7 separate regions of the Homo sapiens genome follow, and regions 2, 3, 4, 5, 6 and 7 are each linked to region 1. Evidence: promoter capture Hi-C in 16 types of primary human blood cells and fetal thymus (Javierre and others, 2016). All regions are on one chromosome and are shown on one strand. Each heading gives the region's core, a stretch centred on a gene start or on the middle of the fragment in contact. The rest is flanking DNA. Distances are from core to core; before and after follow the strand shown. Region 1 holds the start of APIP (APAF1 interacting protein). Region 2 overlaps SLC1A2 (solute carrier family 1 member 2). Region 3 overlaps SLC1A2 (solute carrier family 1 member 2). Region 4 overlaps SLC1A2 (solute carrier family 1 member 2). Region 5 holds the start of ELF5 (E74 like ETS transcription factor 5). Region 6 overlaps SLC1A2 (solute carrier family 1 member 2). Region 7 has its middle 5.2 kb from the start of LINC02707.

Region 1 (3,326 bases), core at 406-2,905:
ACTAAACTTTTAATATTCCATGATTTTCTAAGGCAGTGAGTCTCAAAGCTCATTCCATTAAATGTCAAAATAAAACATCAAAACTCATCCAACATTTGTAAAATGCAGATTCCTGAGCCCCACACCAGACCAGACCGAATCTCTAGGAGCTGGAAAAAAGTTTAATTTCAACAAACTTGGAGGAGGGAAGAGAAGGAATTCTGCACACACTGTTAAAGCACCTCTGCTCCAAGGAATATGTTATGAAACATTACACCAAAAATGAAATAAATTGTTCCCATTAAGGAACCTTTAGGAACCCCAATACACTCATCTTACCATATGACTTTGTGTGATTTTTTTTTTCTGAGCCTAAGGTAGCTCAGAATATGAAGGCAACGTCTACTAGACCTATTTAAATTAAAATTCATTCTGTAGAGTGCCAGGAACGATGATTGGCAGGTAATACGTCACACTAAAAAACGTCAGTCCTATTCTCCATCCCCGCCTCCCTCCAACCTTCTCCCAAAATAAGGAAAAATAATACCCGGCCTGCCATTTTGCATACTGTTAAATACTGCAAGAATTGTGTTAACTGCATCAATATCATTACTAAACAACAATTTTCTATAATAAATTTTTGGTATGATTTATCTCCTAAATGTTTGCTCTTTCAAGCGAATATTTGCTTGAAACATTCTCCTGGACCTTTGTCTATCGTGATGCCGTAGGAATTTACAAATTTAAGTCTTCCACGAGTCATGGCGTGGGGTAAAACTCGACTGGCCTCAATGAAAACACCTCCTAACAGAGAGAGGCCTAGAGAATAAGTAAGAACTCCCAACAGTGGCTTTTCAATCTCGGCAACCTTGGGCAGCTTTTTCTCGTCCGAGACGTTTGACAACCCTAAAGAAACCTGAGCCTTGATTGGAAAGGGGGCTGAGGGAGGAGAGTTTGGGAACCCTCTCTGCGCCTCACAAATAACCCAAATTCCAAGGCAAGGTCACAAAGCCATACAAACCAGGGGGCCTAGGGCAGAGTCGAGTTCTCTCAGCTGCCAAGAAAGCCCTTCACAGCATGCATTAGGCCAAGTCGGCGGACCCCAACCGGAGAAAGAGGAAAGGGAATAAGGAGCCCGCGCACCTTCACACCCAAAAGCAGGCCCTCAATCATAACTGCCCCTGTCCCAGGCCCATCACTCAGCTACACAGAGAAGCTGAGCGAGCCCCGGCCACTCACCCCGAAGCCACTGCGTGCTGTGAAACCATCTCCAATTAGCTCCGCGGCTTACAGACCACCCAAGAGCCCCCTTCACCAGCCCTACGCTTCGGCGGCCGGGGAAGCCCACAAGATAACGCAGCAGCCGCGGATCACAGCCCAGCCTCCAGGAGGCCGCCATCTTGACGGCCTTCTCACTGGCTGCCCGCAGCACAGCCTGATGTCCAGCATCAAGGCCCCGCCTCCCGCATGGTTGGCCACGCCCCCAGACGCTAGCGGTGCCTTTAGGTCTCTCAGACTTGAACCCCCGCCCCCCAACCCAGCCCCGCCTCCAACCACGTTGGCCTTGCCTCCCGGGAAGTCAGGTGCGCCGCTGGATATCTCAGCCGGCGGGGCCTTACCAGACCCCGGCCCCCGCCCCGTTCGCCCCGCCCCCGGGCTGCCCTCAGCGCCGCCTGATTGCATTTGCGGCCTCGCTGCCGTATCCCAGGCTAAGCGCCGCGCGCAAAGCCGTGCGGAGATTGGAGGCCGCGCGGGTCCCTGGTCTGGGCCATGTCTGGCTGTGATGCTCGGGAGGGAGACTGTTGTTCCCGGAGATGCGGCGCGCAGGTAGGGGCGGGGCCACCGGTGCCCGGTATTCCCAGGAGGAGAGGCCCAGGCGGGACCCGGCGGCTGGAGCTGGGCGCAGGGTAGCGGGCCGGGCGTTTAGCTGCGGGGCGGGGTTTCGGGCCTGGCCGTTCGCTACCCCGGCGCACCGCGACCTTGGCGTTCGGAAGCAAGGCTGCGAGGCCCCAGGAGATCAGTGGTCTCGGGCGGGGCGCTCCGATGGCGGGAGCTGGGCGCCAAACGTTGGAAAGAAGCAAATAACTGAGAGAGGAGAGCGTTTAGGTGACCTCACCGGGTATTTATCAGGAAGGCAGGCCAGAGAAGGAATCGTGAAGCACCGAAGTGGAGCTGGGGCGAAGACCGCGCCCCCCAAGCTTCTTTTCTGCGCCCTGACGACCAGTTAGGCGTTTGGGGGGACGTTTGGCACTCGGGAGACGTTTGCCGAACCGGAGCTGTGCCTCAGCTGCCAGCGCTTTGCCTTTGAGCAGTTGCTCCTTGCCTATCTCCGTTTAGATGAATTGTGGGATGATCATGGGAACGATTCTTCCTTAAGCCGAAGTCAAAGGGAAATCCACCCTCACGCTGCATGTAGTTTTCGGTCATTTACACAAACCAACAGTTTTATGGAGCGCCTTCTACACGCTCAGAGATAGGGATACGTAAGATAAATGGCCCAGGGTCTGGAGAACTAGACGAATAAGCAGTTTCAGCACAATATGATAAACCCCACCTAAGAGGCAGGGAAACCCCTCAAAATTAGTTTCCTTATTCCCCCTATCTTATTCCTCCTATCTATATCTTTCTTAGGGTTGAAAATCCTAATTAAAAAGTAGTAACTCGCGGGAGATTTCATTGCTAAACATTTGTCAACCACTTTCTTGTTTGAATAAGTGACTTCCCCAAATTAGCAAAGACGACTCTGAAAATAGAATGCTGCATAGGCAAGATTGGATGAGAGAGAGAAGATCTTGGAGACAGGACAGGTAACTGGAGATCGTTCCTGGGCAAGTGTGTATGGAGAAGTGTCCGTACCCTCAATCAGTAAATCTTAGTGTAATGTCATCAGAATGAGCATCAAAGAGAGCCTTAAGGGACCCGAGAATAAACTAGGATTCTCAAACCAAACATGGCCCACAGACAGCTTGGTGGACAGGCATGTTTTTTTTTTGCTGCACTCAATGTTCATGAAAAATTTGAGCCAACCTTTTTTTTTTTTTTTTTTTTTTTTTGACACGTTTTGCTCTTGTTGCCCAGGCTGGAGTGCAGTGGCGTGATCTCAGCTCACTGCAACTTCTGCCTCCTTGGTTCAAGCGATTTTCCTGCCTCAGCCTCCCAAGTAGCTGGGATTACAGGCGCATGTCACCACACCCAGTTAATTTTTGTATTTTTAGTAGAGACTGGGTTTCACCATGTTGGCCAGGCTGGTCTCGAACTCGTTATCTCAGGTGATCCACCCCCCTAAGCTGCCCAAAGTGCTGGGATTACAGGTGTAAGCCACCACGCCCTGCCAAGCCAACATTTCA
Region 2 (3,326 bases), core at 512-3,011, 460 kb before region 1:
GGATTTTATGTCTGGCTTAAAAAAAAGTCTGTATTGCCTATTGAAATTGCATTGTCTAAATGTGGCAAAGGATTTGCAATAGTTTTGTGAATCAGGGCAGTCTAAAAATTTTATTAGTAATAACAGTAGCAGCAGCAATAACAAAGGCTGGCATTTACATAGACTTCCTATGTGCCGGGCACTGCCCTCTGTGTCACAATTTTTCTTTTTTTTTGAGACAGAGTTTTGCTCTTGTTGCCCAGGCTAGAGTGCAATGGCATGATCTCGTCTCACTGCAACCTCCACCTCCCAGCTTCAAGCGATACTCCTGCCTTAGCCTCCTGAGTAGCTGGGATTACAGTCATGTCACCACCACGCCTGGCTACTTTTGTATTTTTAGTAGACATGGGGTTTCTCCATGTTGGCCAGGCTGGTCTCGAACTCCTGACCTCAGGTGATCCATCCCCCTCGGCCTCCCAAAGTGCTGGGATTACAGGCATGAGTCACTGCGCCTGGCCATGTGTCACAAATTTTAATGCATTTAATTCACAGACAATGGAGCTTCAGACTTACCCCTCCATCTTCTCCTTCCCCTTCCATGAGCTACATTTAGCCGCATTGGCTATGCATCCTTGCCAATCTGGCCAGGTATTGCCAACTTTAACTGCATCCTTATAGACAACTATTCATAGAGCTTAACTGAAGAGAACCACGGGTTATATATTAGTCTGGAGACACTCTTGCCTGTCACACTCTTGTTGCTTTTGTGAGCAGTAAGTTCAAGGCACAAGACTTATCAATCCAATTGAGAGCTTCAGTTACAGGCAGACTTATTTTTTCACCCTGTCCTTCTTGTCTCCAATGCATTGGAAAGGTTCTTAATCTTATACTAGGTGGTTCTTAGTTTTCATGAAAATTTTCAGTTATTCCTAAAGACACAAATTGCTGATGTGAATAAGGGTGAGCGCTTTCAGAGATAAAGATGCTAACAAATCAGTGCAGGTTTGTGACAATTTTAAACTGCTTCAGACCAGCTAGCATCAATATTTTTTCTTGGTATTTCTTCTGTTTTTGATGAACGATGTCTACTATGCAGCCACAAGCTAATACTGCTGTCTTCCCAGGAGGCAGGGCCCTGGTGTCTTGGGTATCATCACCCAAACAACGTTTCAGAATAATCAGTCCCTAAAGTAATGCTTTGCAAAGGCATCAAGCCACTGTGATTTGAGCCTGGGCTTTAGGATCTGGGGGTTCTGCCTTTTTCTAAATTTGCATATTGCTTTTCCCGTTCAGAATTTGGAGTTAGTAACTGTGGAAGGGCTTTTGGGATGGGAGGCAGTGGTGGTGCTGATTATGTTTCCAAGTGTAAAACCAATCAGCTGGGTTTGGATTTCTGGGAGCTTGTGTGGTTCTGTATGGCTTTATTCTTCTGGCTGAAACTACTAAAGGAACCTCCAAGTTCCTGCACAATGTTGCTTCCATTTGCCATGTGCAAGTATTTTTATTTATCAATGGCCAGTTAGTGAAATAGGTTGTGAATCTGTGTTTCTTAAAGAAAAGCCAACACTGGGATAAAGAAAAAGAATGCTTGCAATTTTCTAGATAAGCTAGAACATGTCAGTATGTAAAATGAGAAAACAAAACAAAAACGTTTCTTTCTGTTCAGGGTCTGAATTATCTGGATTTGACAAATACGACAGGCAAAGTCAATGGAATAATCAGCATGAATATGCCTATTCAGGCCTATCTTTGCAGCTTACTTTTTAGGGGTTGTTGGGAGGTTCCTTTCTTGGTATCTACTTGATGATTTTTTTTCATCTTGCGAGTCTTCCTTGGAAATAGAATGAATGAAGAGAGCACAGACCTCGGCCATCAGGGATGTGTGGGCTTAAGTTCTGACATAGCCACTTAGCTCTCTGGTGCTGGACAAGTTCCTTAGCCTTTCTGAGCCTCAGTTATCTCACGAAAATAGAGTTGATCATCATCCCCCTTTGGTAACGAACAGATGGAATGACGGGTGTAGAGCATCTGTTACACAGTGCATGCTCTGTGGCATTCATCTGGCTGACCTGCAGCCCACTCTCTGAGTTGAGAACAAACCAGGGATGATTTGACAGAGATAGCCAGTCCAATATTGGTTGAAACAAGAAAGTTTGAAAAGGAAAAAGATGCCTACAGTCTCTTGAGACACGTGGTTTCCATTCTCTATCCCAACTTTACTGCTGACTTGCTGTACATCCTTGGGAAGTTGCTTAACCCCTCTGACCTTCAATTTCCTGATCTGTGAGATGGGAATAATATTAATGGCTCCTTCCTCCTAAGGATGTAGTGAGCGCTAAATGAGTTAATGGGGATAGAGTGTTTACGTCAGTGCCCCGCACATTGGAAGGGGGGACATACACCTATTTCTGCTTTACCATTCTGCCTGTCAGCCATTCTGATCTTCATGAAGACACTTGGCCTGCTCATTCCTCAGTGGTTATAGTACCAGCTGCATTTCTGGAAGCTCACTGCTGGCTACAAAATGACCTTCAACCTCCAAGTGATCCAGGCTTTTCCTAGCAGCTTCCATCAATGTGCAGGGGTTGAGGAAATTTGTCGAATAGCGACATTGAGGATATGAGTCAAAGAGAGGGGGAGATGATAGATTCATATCTTGAAGCATGTGGAAGTAATCTGGTTTTTGTTTTTGCTTTTTTTTCTGAAGCAGATCCAGGTGTCTAAATGTAACCATTGCCGGCTTAAAAAAAATTATTATTCACAATTGAAAACAGATATAATGTTAAATCAAGATGAGTAATTATTCACATACATAAGTGGAAACAGGATAATTTGGTTACAATTATAAAGATAAACATGTTGGTTTTTAACCCAAGAATGGCAGTGGCTTTGATCCTTTTTTCATTTACATTTTTTGTCTTTTGAAAATTTTTAAAAATTTCAGACAATTTTAGACTTATAGAAGAATTGGAAAAATAATACATAGAGTTCCCACATTCTCCTCCCTCAGCTTCCTTTAATGGTATCGTACGTATTACATAACCATAGAGCATTGATCGAAACTAAGAAATTAACTTTGCAACAATTGCTAGAATTTACTTGGATTTCATATTTTTCCAGTAATGTTCTCTCTCTGTTCTAGGATCCAATCCAGGTCCTGCACTGCATTTAGTTGTCATGTCTCTGTAGCTTCCTCCCATCTGAGATAGTTCCTCGGTCTTTCCATGTCTTTTCATGATCTTGACACTTTCAAAGAGGGTTTTTTTTTTTTTAATAGAATACCTCTCAATCTGGGATTGTCTAATATTTTCTCCATTTCTAGCTTTTAATTGACTGCACTAAACATA
Region 3 (3,326 bases), core at 406-2,905, 440 kb before region 1:
TAGCTCATGTCCACCCTTGCTATTAGGGATATTTGCCAAGGATCATTGAAAGAAATTTTGATCATCTGAGGTGGGAATTAATCATTTGTCTTCGAGCTCTCTATTAGAGACTCACATATTTTAATGTAGCTAAAATTTATTGGAAACCCTATTGTGCTCTTAATAGGTGATTTAGCAGTGAGGAAACAAGTTCCAATTCTGTTCTCAAGAAGGGTACAGTCTAGTGGGGGATGATGCACATCCATCAATCACACAGATCAACAGGGAGTTAGACTTTTTCAGTTAGGTCAGGGAAGCTTCCTGGAGGAAGCAACATTTGATTCAAGATTGGAAGGATGAGCAGGAGTCTGCTAGGTGAAGAAGAGAAGCTGAGGCATTGCTTCTGTGCATTTGTATGAACGGTTAGGGGAGTGGAAACCTTAAGAGCAAAGAGACAAGAAAAGGAGAATGTCATCCCAACCCCATCTGTCTCTATCAGAAGGTTTCTAAACAGCCACATTCACTCCATTCTAAGTCACCCTTAGTTGTAAATTGCACTCACAATGTAATAATAGTTTTTCAAGTAAAAAGAGACATACTATAGTAGATAAATGTTGATATTGACTATAATATGCATCCCAATTTCAGAAATGTTAAATCTTAAAAAAAAAGCCTATCTTAGAAGCAAGGACATAAGATATCAAAATTCAAAGTCGGTCTTGAAATGATTATTGCTATTATTGTCATTGCTTTTATATTGAGGTCTCTGGTTGTCACTGCTGGGACAGTTTTCATTGGCCATCTCTGCTGCCCAGGCACATGCTTCCCCACCACATTGATAGGATCTCTTGCTTCCTGCTCAAACCTCCCCTCTTTTCTCCCCAGCTCCTTAATTCCCAATCCCTTGAGTTCCCATTGATTTCTCGCATGGTGCAGTTTAGCCATGCATGAACTCACTGCCAACCATCTCAACCTAACCCTCTGAAATGTATCCAGTAAGGTGTATTACAAAACAAGGGCAGCTCTCTCAGTGCAGTGAGCATGCCCTGAGACAGCTTGCAATTCTAGACAGGGGTGAGAATATCAGGAGGAGAAATTGTGCCACTCCTTTGCAGAAGGGAACTGGGGCCTTACTGCTTTCTCAAGAGGCAGCATTGGAATGGCTTCTAGAAAGATGGGCTTGGCCTTGGGATGGTGAAAATGCTCTCTGTCTGTGACCTCTGGGGCTCAGCCAAGGCAGGGATGGATAAAGAACTAACCTGCCCTGCCTGCCAGCCAAAAATAGTGCTAACTGCGTCACAGAGCTTTTGGTAATTAAACCTTCCCTCTGCAGAAAGCTGTGGCTTGGACTGATAAGGGACCGTGGATGTGTTAAGGTAATTCACTCCCAACACTGACATTCTTCACTCAACATCAGAAGCAGGCTGGAAAACTAAGTGGAACTAGATGAAGTTTGAGATTCATAACCAGGGCATGGTATGTAAGTAGCAAAAAGACAGAACATGTGCCAACAAAGTTTCTTATAGATTAAGTAGTTCTTTGTTTTTACTCTGAGTCATATGGACTTTTTTCCTTTTTGGTCAGTCAGCTTAGTTAGCAACTTTGTTTCTGATCATAAAAATGCTTCATTTTTGCTGTAGAAAGTTGGAAACATAAAGGAAAGAAGCAATAAGGAAGTAAAAACCCATCCATCATCTTATCATTCACAGATAGCCACTAGGAACCTTTTGTGTCCACTTTTTTCTCGATGCAATGTACAATTTTTATAAAATTATGATCAGGGCCAGATGCGGTGACTCACGCCTGTAATCCCACCAATTTGGGAGAATGAGGTGGGTGGATCATGATGTCAGGAGTTTGAGACCAGCCTGGCCAATATGGTGAAACCCCGTCTCTACTAAAAATACAAAAATTAACAGGGCGTAGTGGCATGCACCTGTAGTCCCAGCTACTCAGGAGATTGAGGCAGGAGAATCGCTTGAGCCTGGGAGGAGAGGGTTGTAGTGAGCCGAGATTGTGCCACTGCACTCTGGCCTGGGCAACAGAGCAAGACTCTGTCTCAAAAAATAAATAAATAAATAAAAATAAAAAATAAAATAATAATCAGAGTATATCTGCAGTTTTCTGTCTTACCTTTTAAATGTACACACAATATACTCCCAATCATACTGTATCTGATGGGGTCATTCAATATTACTTGAAAACCAGACTGTTTTTAGCTTATAAACCTCCTTAGGGCCTGAGCTGAGTGGGGTGAAGTATCTGGGAGAACACACGTCCATGTCAGTAGGAAAGTGCTCTGGTCTGGAGTGTTCTTCAGACAGGATCCATGGTCCCAGGAGAAACTGACATGCTGTCTGGGAAAGCAGAGATGTTCTGGTCATTTTGGGAGGCAGAGAAGGAGTGGGAAGTTCACTGGGGAGAGCATTATGCAGAGAGAAGAGCATGGGCTCGTAAGTAAAGCATTCCTGGCTTGGATTCTGTCTCTGGCACTAATCAGTTGCCTGATCATGGTTAGCCTACCTAATCCTCTAAACCTCAATTTTCTCACTTATAAAGTGGGACTAATGGTATTATGTATTTCACTGGGTTATTGGAGGATAGTACCTGACTCAGAGTAAGTACTCAATGAATGTTAGCCATCATTAGTATATTATTTTTATTAATCTCTCCAACAAGGACTGGGTCAGCTGATTCTATTGGATGAGGATAGTGGGTAGATGGGTTCACTCTTTAAGATAATCTTTAAAAGGAAGTAAAAATATTGGTGGCTTTTAGTATTAATATGTTCTCTCAGAGAGAAGGTGTATTTAAAGTTTAGGGGAGTCAGAAGAATGAAATCTTAAGGCTCCTTCCATTTCATTTTCCAGACCATGAATTGAGGACACTTCAGTGCCTGGTAGGAGATTTGGGTTCAGACCAACAAGCAGCTCCAATCTCAGCCCAGGCATCTTCCTAATCAGGCTTGATGGGCAGCTGCAGCTATAAGTATTTAAATAAATCATCAAAGGGTTTGTTGCATCAGCCAAGCTTTTTAGAGTCCCAAATTTAAAAGCTGAGATAAAATCTTATCTTGCTGTGTCTTTACGGAAGGATCCCCAGATACCTGGGGTTAAGGTCTGGCTCAAGTCAGGACCTAGGAAGCAGCATATGTTGACTGGAGAGACCTGGGTTTGAATCCCAGCTGTGCATGTTATTAGTTATATGACCTTGGGCAAGATTCACAACCTTAGCCCTTCTTTACCTTCTCACCCTAATCTGGGGTAAACATTTGTACCTTTTGGGGTTGTTGCAAGGATTAAAAGAGGCAAACTCTGTGACAATGCCTAGCTCCATGCTGGACTTAA
Region 4 (3,326 bases), core at 249-2,748, 410 kb before region 1:
GCCAGTTTCTAGAAGCTTCTCACATGCCTTGGCTCCTGGCCCTTTCCTTTATCTTTAGAGCCAGCAACATTGGGCTGTGTCTTTGTCATGCTGCCATCCTTCAGTTCTTTCTTTTCTGTTTCCCTTTTTCATGCATAAGAACCCCTGTGATTCCACTGGTCCCACCTGGAGAATTCAGGCGCATCTCCCTATCTTGAGGTCAGCTGATTAGCAACCTTCTTTGCAACTGCAGCCTTAGAGCCCCTTTGCCATGTAATCTGACACATCCACAGGTTCTGGGGATTAGGACATGGACATTTGTTGGGGCATTACTCTACCTATCACTGGTACAGAATAAAAAGTCAATAAATGGTTCTATTCATTACCAGTACTCCCTACCACCTTCTTTCTCTACTGTGAAATTACCTATGCCCTTCAGTTTTTCAAAGGCAGGGCAGAAGCCTCAGCTCTGGTAGAATCTGACGTGCTGGAGGTTGAAAGTGAGAAAGGCAGTCTTTGATGGGCTTAGGGGAGTGGGGAAGTGACCAGCCCTTACCTGGAAGGTTGTGTGCAGGTCTGGGAGGCACAGGCAAGTAAGTAGCTTGAGGTGCTTTAACCAGGATAGTGACAAACTTGGGAGAAGAGAAAACCCTGAGCAGAAACTTCATATGCCTCAAAGGTTGGTAGATGGAGAAGGGATTCAGCTTCATTTTCTGTAAGTGTCGTGATTAAGTGTGTGCACCTTGTTCAGGCCAAGCTGGGTTGCCATCCCAGCTCATCTACTCACCAACTGCCTGACTTGGAGCAAATGTGCTCCTCTCTCTGACCTCCAGTTTTTCATCTATAAAGAAGGACTAATAATAGTAGCTATCTTGTGAGAGTGTTGTGGGAAGTCAATGAAATAATGCATGTAAAGCATCCAGTACATTGTCTGATGGCAACTGTTATTATTAGGTAGCTCCACAGGATAGAAAAATAACCTGTGGGTAAAAGCTGCAGGGAAACAGATATAGGCTCACCATAAAGGAAGGGCTTCTTAATAGTCAAAGCTATCCAACGGCGGGATGGTTAGAGTAGAAGTGATAAGCTGCCCTGCACTGCAACTGTTCAGGCATTGACCAGACATTGGTATGTGGATTAGCTGCAACAGTGTCATCTGGGTGCTTTTGCAAAAGCCCAGAGGTCTAGGCCCCATCCAGATGTGATGAATTGGAATATTCAGGGATGGGGCTTGGAGATCTGTTTTGTGCTTTGTTTTGTTTGTTTTTATTTAATATGCTGTTTTTTAAAGAGTAGTTTTAGTTTTACAGGAAAATTGAGTGGAAAGTACAGAGAGTTCCCATATACCCCTGCTCACATTCAGGTGCAGCCTCCCCAACTGTCAACATCACCCACCAGAGTGGTACATTTATCACAAGCGATGAACTTACATTGATACCTCATTATCATGCAGAGTGCTTAGTTTACATTAGGGTTGGCTCTTGGTGTTGTACATTCATGGGTTTGGACAAATGTATGATGATGTGTATTTACCATTATAGTAACATACAAAGTATTTTCATTGCCTTAAAAAATCCTCCGTGCTTCACCTATTCAGCACCATGCCCCTCCATAGTTTTGCCTTTTCCAGAATGTCATATAGTTGGAATCATACAGTATGTAGCCTTTTCAAATTGGCTTCTCCCACTTAGTAATATGCATTTATTTTTCCTCCATGTCTTTTTTTGGATAGATAGTTCATTTCTTTTCAGTGCTGAATAATATTGCATTGTCTGCATGTACCATGGTTTATCCATTTGCCCACTGAAGGATGTCTAGGTTGCTTCCAAGTTTTGGGAATTATAAATAAAGCTGCTATAAATATCCCTGTGCAGTGTTTTGTGTGGACATAAGTTTTGGAGATCTGTATTTTTAACAAGTGATCCAGAGACAGAGTTGGGGCCACTAGACCAGATAATCATTTGTCCAGAGGCTGAGAGGGGACAGGAAGACTCTCTAGTCCAGAAATTCTAGGGTTCCATGACTGTTGTATGTAGCTCTTGGATCAGGCTCTGGTTTGGACTAGGTGTTAACTTTCTTCTCTCTGGGATCCTTCCCATCCCCCAACAGCAAAATCACTCTTTTGGCCAAATGTTCAGTGTCGATGTCTATTGCTAGCATGAAATTGCCTAATATAAAGAGCAAGTTTTCTCGGGCTGGAGGGAGAGTGGGCTGACCAGTTTTTCCAAGTCCAGGACTGACAGGGATCAAATCCTAGCTCTACCATCCATTACTTTTGTGACATTGAGCAAGTAACTTAACCATTCAATGACTTCATTTTTCCTTCAGTAAAAGTTGCTGATAGTAGTACCTATCTCCTGAGGTTATTGTGAGAAATCAATAAGTTCATATATAAGAAGACTTAGAAAAATACCTGGTGTGAAGTTAGTTTTGAGTAAATGTTAGCTGCTGTCATCATTATTGTCACCATCATTATTCTTATTATTACCAGTTACCAGACATTAGGGTCCCTCTGATGGGGGAGTCCTTCCCGGTGAAGAACCAGAGTTGGAGTGAACCCTTGAGGTTATTTCACAGCAGCAAGTGCTGGCTGAGTCAGTGGGAATAGGATGGTTCCTGTGTGCCCTCGTTGCCTGAAGGGAGGAGTCAGTTGAGTGGATGCCATTTTCTTATGATGGTACATCTGGGGCCATGGCACCAGCAGCATATATTGTCCAAGACAGACAACAAGGCCATAGCTCCCCAGAGCTCACTTTGCCTTTTCTCTCATTTAGCAGCACTTCCTCTCTCTATCTTCCCTCTCCATGTGCTAGAATGCAAGTCTCATAAGTAGCTACCTAGTGCCTTGGTGTAGATGGTAGTTCTAACATGTCCATTGCTCTGTAAATACCCCAAGAAAGAGTATACCCATAAAACACTGGACTCAAAGGCAAAGGACAGCACAGGTTTAACTTTGCTGCAGAACCACAGCACAGGTTTAACTCTGCTACTTCCAAGCTTCATGAGCTTGGGCAAGTTTCAGAATCTTCTGGAGCTTCTGTCTTTTCATTTCTAAGATAGAATAATCCTTCCCTCTCCGGGATGTCATTAACTCTTGATGAATGCAAAAACGCTTTTTAAATGACACAAATGTTATTATTAGCTTATTTGTTAGAAAGTTAAACTGATGAAATGTTGGTTATTATTTACGATTGAAAGATGAACACAAGGAGAAGAGTCTGCTTGGGTTCCTGTTATGGAAGACAAGAAAGGAAATGTATGAGAGTTCTTTGCTGTTATGGGCATGGAAGAGTAGAAGGAAGATGAAGGCCACAAACTTCTTCTTTGGCCAGTGAGGTCACTCTGTT
Region 5 (3,326 bases), core at 252-2,751, 400 kb after region 1:
CAGCCTAAATTAGGCAGAGTTTCTGTTGTCACGAAGAAGTACTAAAAAGCGGGCAGTTCTCAGCGAGACACCTGAGAGCTGGCATCCACATGAGGAGAGGCCCCATCACTTACATTACACTCATGAAGCCCAGAGATGTTAGCTACATTTTTCTAGGTAGCACAGCTAGGAAATGATGGACACTGAATTTGAATCTAAAGGCAACTAGCTGCAAAACCTGAGGTCTTAACACTGGGCCTATAATGCTCTTCCTTCTCACCACATGGGAAAAACGGAGAAAGACATGATCTTACAAAAGCACTGGGCTCAGCCAGCCTGGGAGAGAGGCAGCGCAGACCGGCACCAGGGTGGAATCTCTGTGTTTCCCCTCCAGCTTGCACAGAGGAAAATTCCTCACCAAACGCACGATCCCCGCACAGCTCCCAGGGACAAGAATTTTCTGCTTGTTTACTGAGTCCCCTGGGCTGGGAGTGGGGGGTTGCAGGGCAGGGGTGAGCTGCGCACAAAAGCAGGATAAAGGTAAACTTTCTGCATATGAGAACCATTTCCCCCCCTCCAAGGAGCCGTGTCACACTGTATGTCACCGTCATCAAAGGGGCTGTGCGTAAACCTGAAAAACCAAACGGACCTGTCTGTAGGTGTCACTTATATCACAAGGCTACAGGTGTCTTTATTTCCACTGCACGCTGGTGCTGGGAGCGCCTGCCTTCTCTTGCCTTGAAAGCCTCCTCTTTGGACCTAGCCACCGCTGCCCTCACGTAAGCGCCTTTTCTTTGCTTTTTTGGATGAATCGTAAGGGGTGTCAGGGCTCAGAGGCTCGGCCTGGGGCCTGGGTCTGCTCGTCCATCTCCAGCTCCAGGGCCGGCACCTGCGCTGGGTGCAGTCCCAGGGCCTCCGGGAGCTGTTTGACACGGATGTGACGGCTTGCCTCAGAGAGACCTGCTTGCCTCCGCAGGCCGTGTGGCCACCAGCCCTCCTCACAGCCACCACTCCCTCTGGATCCCTTAGCTGAACCAAGGGGAATTAAGAGAACGCGCCCAGGCGCTCAGTTCTCTATCCTCCCTAAAGCTTCTTTAGGAAGGGAAGCTGGATTTTACTCAGAAAAATATTCAGCTTCAAGGAAAGCCCCCCACCTACCCTTCTCCCCTGACTGAATTCCTTTCCCCACCGGCCTGCCCACTGTCCCCCACCCCCTCGATACAGAGAACTCCCTTATTATAGTTTGGGGCATTTTCAGGAATTTGTACAAAACAGTTTTAAAAGAAACCCATTTGCCCTCTGACATCTCCCCAGAAGAGAATGCTTCCAGAAAAGCAATGGTTAGCGTTTTTCCACTGTGTTCTCAGGCCTTGTCAGACTCTGCAGTGTGTGGGGTTTCTGTGGGGTTGCCCCCTGCTGACAGCGACAGGTAGCACAAGCTCCCTCCTCAGGCTGAAGCCGGGCCTGCGTGTGGATGCCTTTTGTACGCCCGAAAGTGTGTCAGACATCACTAGGTGCAATCGCTTCATGTTACAGATGAGGAAACTGAGGCCAGAAAGGCTAGATGACTTAGGGAGGCAGCTCTGTGGTTCAGTCTAGTCCAGAGACCCAGGGAAAGGGGTGGTTTGCCCATCCGAGTGAACGCTTGATTCTGTTGTCTTCGTGTTCTCTGCAATACTGTTTTTCATAATCTAAGGTATTCTCGGGCCGGAGTTTTCAGTTTGGTCATCTCCCTTTTTCAGAAGTCACCAGAGTGGCAAATTTTTAGATACATTGTTGATGGCTGATTTTTCCCTCTAAAACAGGATTGAATATATGTATTATGCCCCGTCCTTTGCATATATCGGATTGCATGATTTAAAAAAAAAAAAATCCCCATTTTAGAGATGAGGAAACCGTAGTTCGAAGAGGGGCATGAATATTTATATACCACATCTATATGAAAAAAAGCTTAAGAATTTCAGCAGTCTGGGTAGTAAGAAATGTGCCCCACGTTCGCAGCAGCAGAGGTAGGATTTAACCCCTGATATATGTAATCCAAAACTGGTAAGCTTTGCATCGAAGCCTACAGCAAACTACATGGCATACCTTTTTGGATCTTCGCTGCACCTTCAGAAAAACAGCTACAAACAAACAAACACGCAAACTCCCTAAGCGAGCTAAAGAAAAATGAGGAATCACTTGACAAGAGGTCAGCAAATTGGTTCTCACAGTTGCTAGGGTTCCTCTCAGAAGAACAAACCCTCAAGCACCCAACCCTCAATCTTTCTTTAGCAGTAAGTGTTGAAATACTCCACTGGGTTCTCCTCAGTGGGCCCCTTCTTAGGGAGGTCCAAGGGCTGGGAAATTGACCCTCCCTTGCTCACAAGTCTTGGGACGGAGTGGACATTTGGGTATCACTGAGGCTTTAAGGAAGGAAAACCGATTTTCTTCCCAATGATACCACTCAGAGGGTGGGGTTGAGGAAGCCCAATCTTGGCCACTTTTTTCTATATTTTGCACCCTATGGCCTAGTTCTGCCCAGTGATGATTTGGCCCGTAAACAGCCAATGTGTAGATGCTTAATTGGGCCAATTTTTGGTCACATGCCCAGAGTGAAGTTGATGATCACCACCAGAGTCAGGAAGGAATTTTCCTCCTCTGGCAAACTGGCCAAGGCTGAGTGGTTTGCTCCTTCCCCTCTCTCTGGGAGGCTGAGCAGGGGTGCCGGGTTGCTCAGGCCATGGGAGCCACACCTGTTATTGCTGCCTCTGATTTGTGTGACACTGAGAAGCCCACAGGCCTGTCCCTCCAACTCGGTGGACCCTCTCTGTGTGCATTTGGTGTGTGAGCCAGCTCTGAGAAGGGTTCAGAAGCCACTGGAGGCATCTGGGGACCTCAGCTTCCATGCCATCTCTGCCTCACTCCCACAGGTACCTGCAGCCAACTTTCTCATGTGTGAAGTGAGCCCACCTGATTCCACCACCTTGTGTTAATCATTCTTGAGCTTTTCCTACTTACTAGGCAGCTAGAATGATGACTACATTTGGGGGAAACTGATTCCAGCTTCCACGGATCTATCGGTGGGCAGTGAGTGAGGGTCCAGAGTGTTTAAGGTACCCAGCTAGGCTGGGCAAAGAATATCCAGTTGTCCTGAGGTATCTACCTCCAACTGGGGTAGAAGGCAGTGGGCACAGGAGAAAAGGGAGAAGAGGAAATCAGGGAGCTTTTTCAGCACTAAAAGTTCAGTCTGTGTGTAGTGGTTGGATTTTCCTCCAATTTGGTGGACTTGCTTGACCAAAAAAATGCAAATATAATCAATGTGTATGCATATGTGTGTGAGTGCCCAGGTTTGGATGTGTTGGCTC
Region 6 (3,326 bases), core at 526-3,025, 360 kb before region 1:
GGGCGTGGTGAAAGGTGAGCAAGACGGACATCCTCAAAGGCCATGCAGAGAAACTTGAACTTGACCATGTATGGTAGTTCAGCTACCTTTCCCAGTGAAGGACATTTTCCTCATGTAGAATACTCACTGCCCATTCACAAAGGTGGGAAAGTCTAACCAGATGGTCTTCGACAAGGGGGTTGGAATGGATCCCCTCTAAGTGCCCACTTGGGCTTGGATGTTCTGTGAGATGTAATCTGATGCCTCCTGTCCAGCACTGGAGTTAAATGATAGGGCCTCCGGCAATGCCAGTCTTCAATGTCAGAGGCACAGAGTGACAAGTGCTGGCCCAGAGTCCCAAGGCCAAAGTGCCCACACTTATTTTTCAAACTGCCTGACTTGCCAGTAGCAAATTTTCTGACATTTATTGGCATTGATTTTAAGAGCCAGAAACCACATTTTTCTTTTTTTTCAGATGGAGTCTTGCTCTGTTGCCCAGGATGGAGTGCAGTGGTGCGATCTTGGCTCACTGCAACCTCTGCCTCCTGGGTTCAAGCATTTCTCCGGCCTCAGCCTCCTAAGTAGCTGGGACTACAGGCATGTGCCACCACACCCGGCTAATTTTTGTATTTTTAGTAGAGACAGGGTTTCACTATGTTGGTCAGGCTGGTCTCAAACTCCTGACCTCAAGTGATCGGCCCACCTCAGCCTCCCACAGTGCTGAGATTACACGGGTGAGCCACTGTGCCCAGCCTCAGAAGCCACATTTTGTGGACTTGAGTCTGTTTCTGCTTCCCACTCCCACCCTTCCAAAGAGAGGAAAATGCAAGTGGCCGAAGGGAGGAAGGACAGCTGGGAAGGCTAGAAAGAAGCCTGACTTCTCCATAAGATGTGCCTGCTGTTGGTGCAGACAACAGGGCTTAGGTTAGAAATAAGAAGTGCCCAGCACTTTGGGAGGCTGAAGCGGGCAGATCACCTGAGGTCGGGAGTTCAAGACCAGCCTGAACAACATGGAGAAACCCCGTCTCTACCAAAAATGCAAAAATAATTAGCCAGGTGTGGTGGCATATGCCCGTAATCCCAGCTACTTGGGAGGCTAAGGCAGGAGAATCACTTGAACCTGGGAGGCGGAGGTTGCAGTGAGCTGAGATCGTGCCATTGCACTCCAGCCTGGGCAACAAGAGTGAAACTCCATCTAAAAAAAAAAAAAAAAAAAACAAAAAAAAACAGAAGTAAGAAGTGGCTCCCTGAACAGAATCAGTTCAACTTGGGAGGGCTGCAAGGAAGGCCATAGATTTTCCTGATTGGCTCCTTCATCATCAGAAAATGCTCAGGAAATACCTTTAGCGGAAGGTGACAAGCAAACAAAATAGCCTCATCTCTGTCTCTGCCAGTCTCTCAGGTGGTGGTAGTGGCGTCCCTACCTGCTAGCTTGGTTATTCTCTGTGTCCTATATTGGCCCCAAGGGACAGCCTTTCTCATGACATCTGTTCAGACAAGGCAGCTGAGAGTCAATGGTGGTGTATGGGTGAGAAGGATTGTGAGAGAAGGGGATGAAGGATACAAAGGAATGGGGTAGGCCATGGATGGAAGGGGGACAAAAGGGAAATAAAGACATTGGCAGTGGTCTAGAGACAGAGCAAATAGTAGCAGCTCAATAAATGTGAGCTACTCTTAACCACATAGTTGCTGTGTGATAATTGGGTCCATCCACATGAAAAGAAAGACGAAGGAAGCCATTTAAGTTCTGCTGGCTTTCCCCATGACTTGTTGCTTACTTAAACCCTTGACTCTTTGCCTCTCAAGTCTTTTCAATGCTTGTGGTCATTGAGGGTCCCTCGCCTGCTGTGACAATATTGCCTCATTTTTTTCTTGGGCTTATTTCCAAGGCTTTAAACCACCATTAGAAATTCATCTTTTTAAAAAATATTATTATAGAGGCTGCCCCCCATTATAATACAAATGCCTTTGAGTGGAAAAAAATGCACTAATATGATCAGGAGTGAGGAAAAGGGGTGATATTTGGTGGGTACTGCAATGTCTTTACATCTGTCTCCATTTAATCCTTAAGGTGCCCTATGCTGTATTTCCAGATGAGAAAACTGGGAATCAGAAGGGTTGAGTCTTTTGCCTGATGCACAGCAGAGCTTGTATGGCCAGGTCAGGACACTTCACCCAACTCCACACAGCCTCCTAATTTGTACTAAGTGTTCTAACAGTGGGGAGGAGGAGCAGAGAGGCCCAGAGTTGGAACGGTTGGAGAAGACACACTTATTAGGGCCACCCACTGGGCTATGGTTTGAATATTTGTCCAGTCCAAAACTCATGTTGACGTTTAATTGCCATTGTAACAATATTAAGAGGTGTGGCCTTTAAAAGGTGATTATATCGTGAAGGCTCCACCCTCATGAGTGGGGTTGGTGCATTATAAAAGGGTGAATTCAGCCCCTTCTTGCCCTCTCTTTGTCTTTCTGCCTTCTGCTATGTCATGATGCAGAAAGAAGGCCCTTACCAGATACCAGTTTCTTGATCTTGGATTTCCCAACCTCCAGAATTCTGAGGAAATAAATTTCTGTTCTATATAAATTACCCAATCTCAAGTATTTTGCTATAGCAGCACAGACTAAGACACACCTGATTCTGCATGCTAACCAGAGAAATATTTTTGACCTATTTTTTTCTTCTCTCAGCATGAAAATAAAACAAATAGGCTCAATGAGGACAAATGGGGTACAATCAAGGTCTTGGCCACCCTTAGAATTCAAGTCTTCCAGCCCCAGTGGGTCTGCCATTGTAGGTCCTGGTCCTTGGCAGTCACTTGTTTTCAAGCCTGTTGGATGTGAGTCACTTCATGAAACATTCAAAACCCTGCCTACTTCTGACCTAAATGTTAGCAAATGAAACAGGAGGGCTGGGCCCTCCCAGATCACCCCATGCAGGTGCTCACATGCTTACACTTGCAAAGGAAAGCAGAGCGTCCTAACTCCAGGGCTGAAGTGTGTCAGCAGAAGGGAGTTGGCTGAATTTTTTTTTTTTTTTAAAAAGGATGATACATTTGGATTAACTATGTTGATGAAATCATATAATAGAAAACCCCATCCTAGGCTGGAGCTGGGAAGAAAGGAGCAAATGAAGAGCTGTTGTCCAGTTCTGGGGCTCTGATCTCAAATGGAGGGAGGAGTGTGATCAAGGGAAAGAGAGTCTAAGAGGCAGGAGCCCTCAGTCTGAGCTCTGCACTTACTATCTAAAGGACCTTGGGCAAGTGACTTTCTGAGCCTCAGCTACATCATGTGTAAAATGGGGCAATAACATATCAGGTTGGAAGCAAGAGTCTAGGTTCAATGCCT
Region 7 (3,326 bases), core at 331-2,830, 350 kb after region 1:
TCTCCCAGTCTCCATCACCCAATTAACTTTATGTTTTCTCACTAATATCTCAGCCCCTCCATTTTCTCCAGGGAGCTAATGACAAACAATGATTTGAAGAATGTACATCTTAAGGGAATCAAAATGTCCATCCAACGAGCTGGTGCGTGGGCACGGGGACCACCAGATGGTGAGAGGAGAGGAAAGGGATTCTCCTCACTCCCAATCCCATCCCTCCCCCACGGATGTCTCTGACAGAAATCCCTGAATCTGAAAAAAAGGAGAAATCAGTGTTCCCACTGCTTCATCCCACCAGCCCTAACTCTGGTTTCCTTCTGTTACCAGCACAAATACAAAGAGTTTTCCACAAAATCTCAGGAACAGTCCCAAGACCCACGTTAGCCTAACTAGAAGCGTCACACTGGGCCCAAGAAAGAAGTCACGTGACACTTTTTCTGGGTTTATTGCCTTCCTCCAATAACTACCACTAATTCACCTACACCATCCCTTCTCTCACCCCAGACCTGGCTCAAGGTGCCAAGAAAGATAGAAGGATAGAGAAGGAGAAATTCAAATAATGGAGGAAGAACGGACATTGTGTGGCCAACACTTAGATACCAGCCTTCTAAGGGACTTCCATGTGTTCCATTTGACTCTGTGCCATAGACAGATGCCCCTCAGAACCTCTCTTTCTCCTCAAAGTCCCAAGGATTGGCATCCCAAGCATCTGGCTTGCGGTCTCTGGCATCCCTGCCCAGGACTCAGAAGCCCACTGCACACAAACAGGTACATCTGCAGGTGGAAGAAGGAAGGGGATGCACACCCAGAAGCCATCTTTATTCCTCGTCAAGAGGAAGGACAAAGCAGGCTTGGACAAAGGCAGAGGAATATAGACTAGGCTCTCCCTACCTCATGTCTGGGGTAGTACTCTGTCTGACCCAAAGGTGAGACTCCAAGCTTATTGCTATAAAATCTAGATCCAAGCCTAGCAGGCTGAGCTCACTAGAGTAGAGTGCAGTCTTTGTTCTGGCTGCGTATGCTCAATTTGCTTGGGAAGCAGACCCAAGGTCACCCGAGGACACTTTCTATTCTGTTCTGAACCAAAGGAGTTTAGAAGCTACCCTTGCAAACCTCTAGGTCTCTGGACCCACTTCTCTGCCCCCAAACATAGCTAGGAAATTTTTTAAAAATAATGAATGAATGTTAAATAAATGGGTGAACTAATAGCTAACTCAGGCCCTTCAAGACCATAGGCTATCCCCAGAGACAAGCTTCTTTGACTAAATCCTCAGCTGGGAAGGATTAAAGGCCGGTCACCCCACCCTCTGCATGGAGGCAGCTGCTCTCAGCAAGCCTTCTTATAGCTAAGTTAGACTCACCAAGGGATTCTCTGTTACCTCCTACCCAGTCTTTGTCCACCCAGTCAGGACATGGTGCCTCTACTGGGCCAGCCAGCCCAGCACTCATCTGGCCAGCCTGGCTACTCCCTCTTCCCTGTGCCCACCAGGGAGAGAAAGGCAAGTACGTGGCACAGGTGAATTGCAAGGACTGACTTCAGTATAAATCATGGGTCAGTCATTTTTGGCTGAAAAACTCAGCAAGTTACTTAATTCCTATGTGTCTCTGTTTCCTAAACTGTAGTCAGGGGATAATGACATCTACTTCATTGGTATTAGACTCCCTTCACTAGAATGCAAATGTCACAGAAAGGGGCTGCCAGGATGCTTAACCTCAGGGCACACCATTCATAAGGTGGCCCATGTATGTGGCTCCCCCTAGAGTTGTGTGCTGTTAATTGCATGTAGTAGCCCTGCCACCAGAACAGGGATTTTGTCTGTCTTGTCCCTTGATCTAAATTAAGCACCTAGAATAATGCCTGGCTCATAGTAGGAACTCAATAAATATGTGTTGGGTGAATGAATAGAAGCTTTGTAAGGATTTAAGTAAATAATTTTCATAAAAGGACTGTCTTTTGAGTCAATGCTCAATAAATGATAGTAGTGATTATTGTTGTTGATAATGTTATTAAGTATAATGGGAAAAACCTTTCCCCCCAGCCCTGCCTTTTATAAATCCATGGGTGTGAACTTGAATGTTGAGGGCCATTCTCCACCAAGCCTTCAGCTCCAGATGAGAATGGCTTAGCCCACATTTTCTCACCAGGTTACAGGAGACTTTGCCCTTCTCACCTGTCTTGTCCTGGCCTTCCTGCCTTCAGCCCAGCTCTGCCCCTAGTCTGACCCCAAGGCCACTACAGAGCAACAGGACTGCCATCTGGCTGCCACAGGGCTGGCTGTCTCATCTTCATGTAAAAGTCAGGACTTTCCTCTTCTCTGCCTTTTCTTGGCTCCCTCATTTGGCACCAGGGACCCTATTCAGGAGCCCAGTCCTACTCAAAGGCCACAGCTCTTTCTTGGAAATGACACAGACCTGAAAACAAGGGGCTCAAATATCTTTGCCAACAGGGACATTGCATAACAACAGCACCGTGTTCTGGGTGAAGGGAACCCTGTTCCAGAGAGGAGAGGGAATTCTTCCCTCCACTCGGGAGGCTGTGTGGATTTTTAAGCCACTTCTCCTTTGTAGGGACAGATTTGGTTTTGAAAATCAGGTGATCTTGGCTTCAGCCTGCAGGTGCCTCTCCTTTCCCACCGTCACCACACCCACAGGGACAGCCTCCTTTCTGGAGACAATAGGTGGCTGCCACCTTTGTAGAAAATGAAGTGTCAGGAAGGAACCCACCCCAGAAATAGGACCTCCCTGAATGCCTGGGATTCCACTATTAGTGATTCACTCCTTTGAGTTCAGCACCACCCACTCTCTGACTGTCTTGGAAAACACAAATTCTCTTGGTGCGGGGGGCGGGGGAAACACATTAAGCTCCTAACACCTTGAGTGAAGAAATTCATCAGGTATGTTATTTCCTCCTGATGGAAGCAGTATCTGGGTGCTTGGCCCTACATACTATGGGGCTAGAGTGGGGCTCACCAGAATCGAAGAAGAGAGAAGATTTGGAAGTCAAACTAGGTCAGTGTCACCAGGTTTCCCAGAGCCGGGCCTGCCTACACCCTCCAAAGACAGCTGGCTCTGGAGCTGTTTATTTTCATGAGTTGATCACCAAAGGATTAAAAGAGGCAACACACACAAAGGGCCTACCTCCATACCCCCCATGTAATAGATACTTAACAAATGTTAGTCTCTACTACCCCTCCCATGAATGGAAGAATATATTTGTCTTTCTGGAGAGGGCTGGTCTGTGCCTGCCCCTCATCTTCAGGGACAGGGCGAGTCAAAGAAATCAGGTTTCTCTTCCATTCCTTTTTAGAATGTGGGTCCACTTCTACCCA

Evidence for each region. Contacts are between HindIII fragments. The CHiCAGO score rates a contact against its expected background, and 5 or more counts as called.
Region 2: a contact is called between a fragment that was not itself captured here and the fragment with the promoter of APIP in region 1, in 16 of 17 cell types (naive CD8 T cells, activated CD4 T cells, non-activated CD4 T cells and 13 more). The highest score is 23.1, in naive CD8 T cells.
Region 3: a contact is called between a fragment that was not itself captured here and the fragment with the promoter of APIP in region 1, in 16 of 17 cell types (activated CD4 T cells, non-activated CD4 T cells, naive CD8 T cells and 13 more). The highest score is 16.9, in activated CD4 T cells.
Region 4: a fragment that was not itself captured here is called in contact with the fragment with the promoter of APIP in region 1 in 10 of 17 cell types (non-activated CD4 T cells, activated CD4 T cells, naive CD8 T cells and 7 more); the score reaches 13.2 in non-activated CD4 T cells.
Region 5: a contact is called between a fragment that was not itself captured here and the fragment with the promoter of APIP in region 1, in 1 of 17 cell types (megakaryocytes). The highest score is 5.3, in megakaryocytes.
Region 6: a contact is called between a fragment that was not itself captured here and the fragment with the promoter of APIP in region 1, in 3 of 17 cell types (total CD8 T cells, M2 macrophages and non-activated CD4 T cells). The highest score is 6.5, in total CD8 T cells.
Region 7: a fragment that was not itself captured here is called in contact with the fragment with the promoter of APIP in region 1 in 3 of 17 cell types (M1 macrophages, megakaryocytes and M2 macrophages); the score reaches 7.1 in M1 macrophages.

What each region holds. Positions count from the first base shown.
Region 1 is chr11:34,914,708-34,918,033 of GRCh38, reverse strand. It overlaps APIP (APAF1 interacting protein), which reads left to right and starts at 1,655. Exons shown (of 7, transcript NM_015957.4): 1 at 1,655-1,806. The coding sequence starts at 1,750. PDHX (pyruvate dehydrogenase complex component X) reads right to left here and starts at 1,416. Exons shown (of 11, transcript NM_003477.3): 1 at 1,219-1,416. The coding sequence starts at 1,378. RefSeq lists an enhancer at 1,115-1,414 and silencers at 1,585-1,634, 1,655-1,994. The HindIII fragment of the contact is 9,412 bases long and covers 1-2,179 here.
Region 2 is chr11:35,376,118-35,379,443 of GRCh38, reverse strand. The region is part of intron 1 of SLC1A2 (solute carrier family 1 member 2); the gene reads left to right. Among named protein-coding and RNA genes, the nearest start is that of SLC1A2-AS2, 41 kb to the left of the region's middle. The HindIII fragment of the contact is 4,207 bases long and covers 1-3,326 here.
Region 3 is chr11:35,350,368-35,353,693 of GRCh38, reverse strand. The region is part of intron 1 of SLC1A2 (solute carrier family 1 member 2); the gene reads left to right. Among named protein-coding and RNA genes, the nearest start is that of SLC1A2-AS2, 67 kb to the left of the region's middle. The HindIII fragment of the contact is 2,713 bases long and covers 299-3,011 here.
Region 4 is chr11:35,327,470-35,330,795 of GRCh38, reverse strand. The region is part of intron 1 of SLC1A2 (solute carrier family 1 member 2); the gene reads left to right. Among named protein-coding and RNA genes, the nearest start is that of SLC1A2-AS1, 47 kb to the right of the region's middle. RefSeq lists an enhancer at 1-410. The HindIII fragment of the contact is 2,961 bases long and covers 18-2,978 here.
Region 5 is chr11:34,511,109-34,514,434 of GRCh38, reverse strand. ELF5 (E74 like ETS transcription factor 5) reads left to right here and starts at 641. Exons shown (of 7, transcript NM_001422.4): 1 at 641-758. The HindIII fragment of the contact is 861 bases long and covers 1,071-1,931 here.
Region 6 is chr11:35,276,144-35,279,469 of GRCh38, reverse strand. All of the region lies in intron 9 of SLC1A2 (solute carrier family 1 member 2), which reads left to right. Among named protein-coding and RNA genes, the nearest start is that of SLC1A2-AS1, 4.0 kb to the left of the region's middle. The HindIII fragment of the contact is 3,887 bases long and covers 1-3,326 here.
Region 7 is chr11:34,564,038-34,567,363 of GRCh38, reverse strand. No RefSeq gene overlaps it. Among named protein-coding and RNA genes, the nearest start is that of LINC02707, 5.2 kb to the left of the region's middle. The HindIII fragment of the contact is 656 bases long and covers 1,253-1,908 here.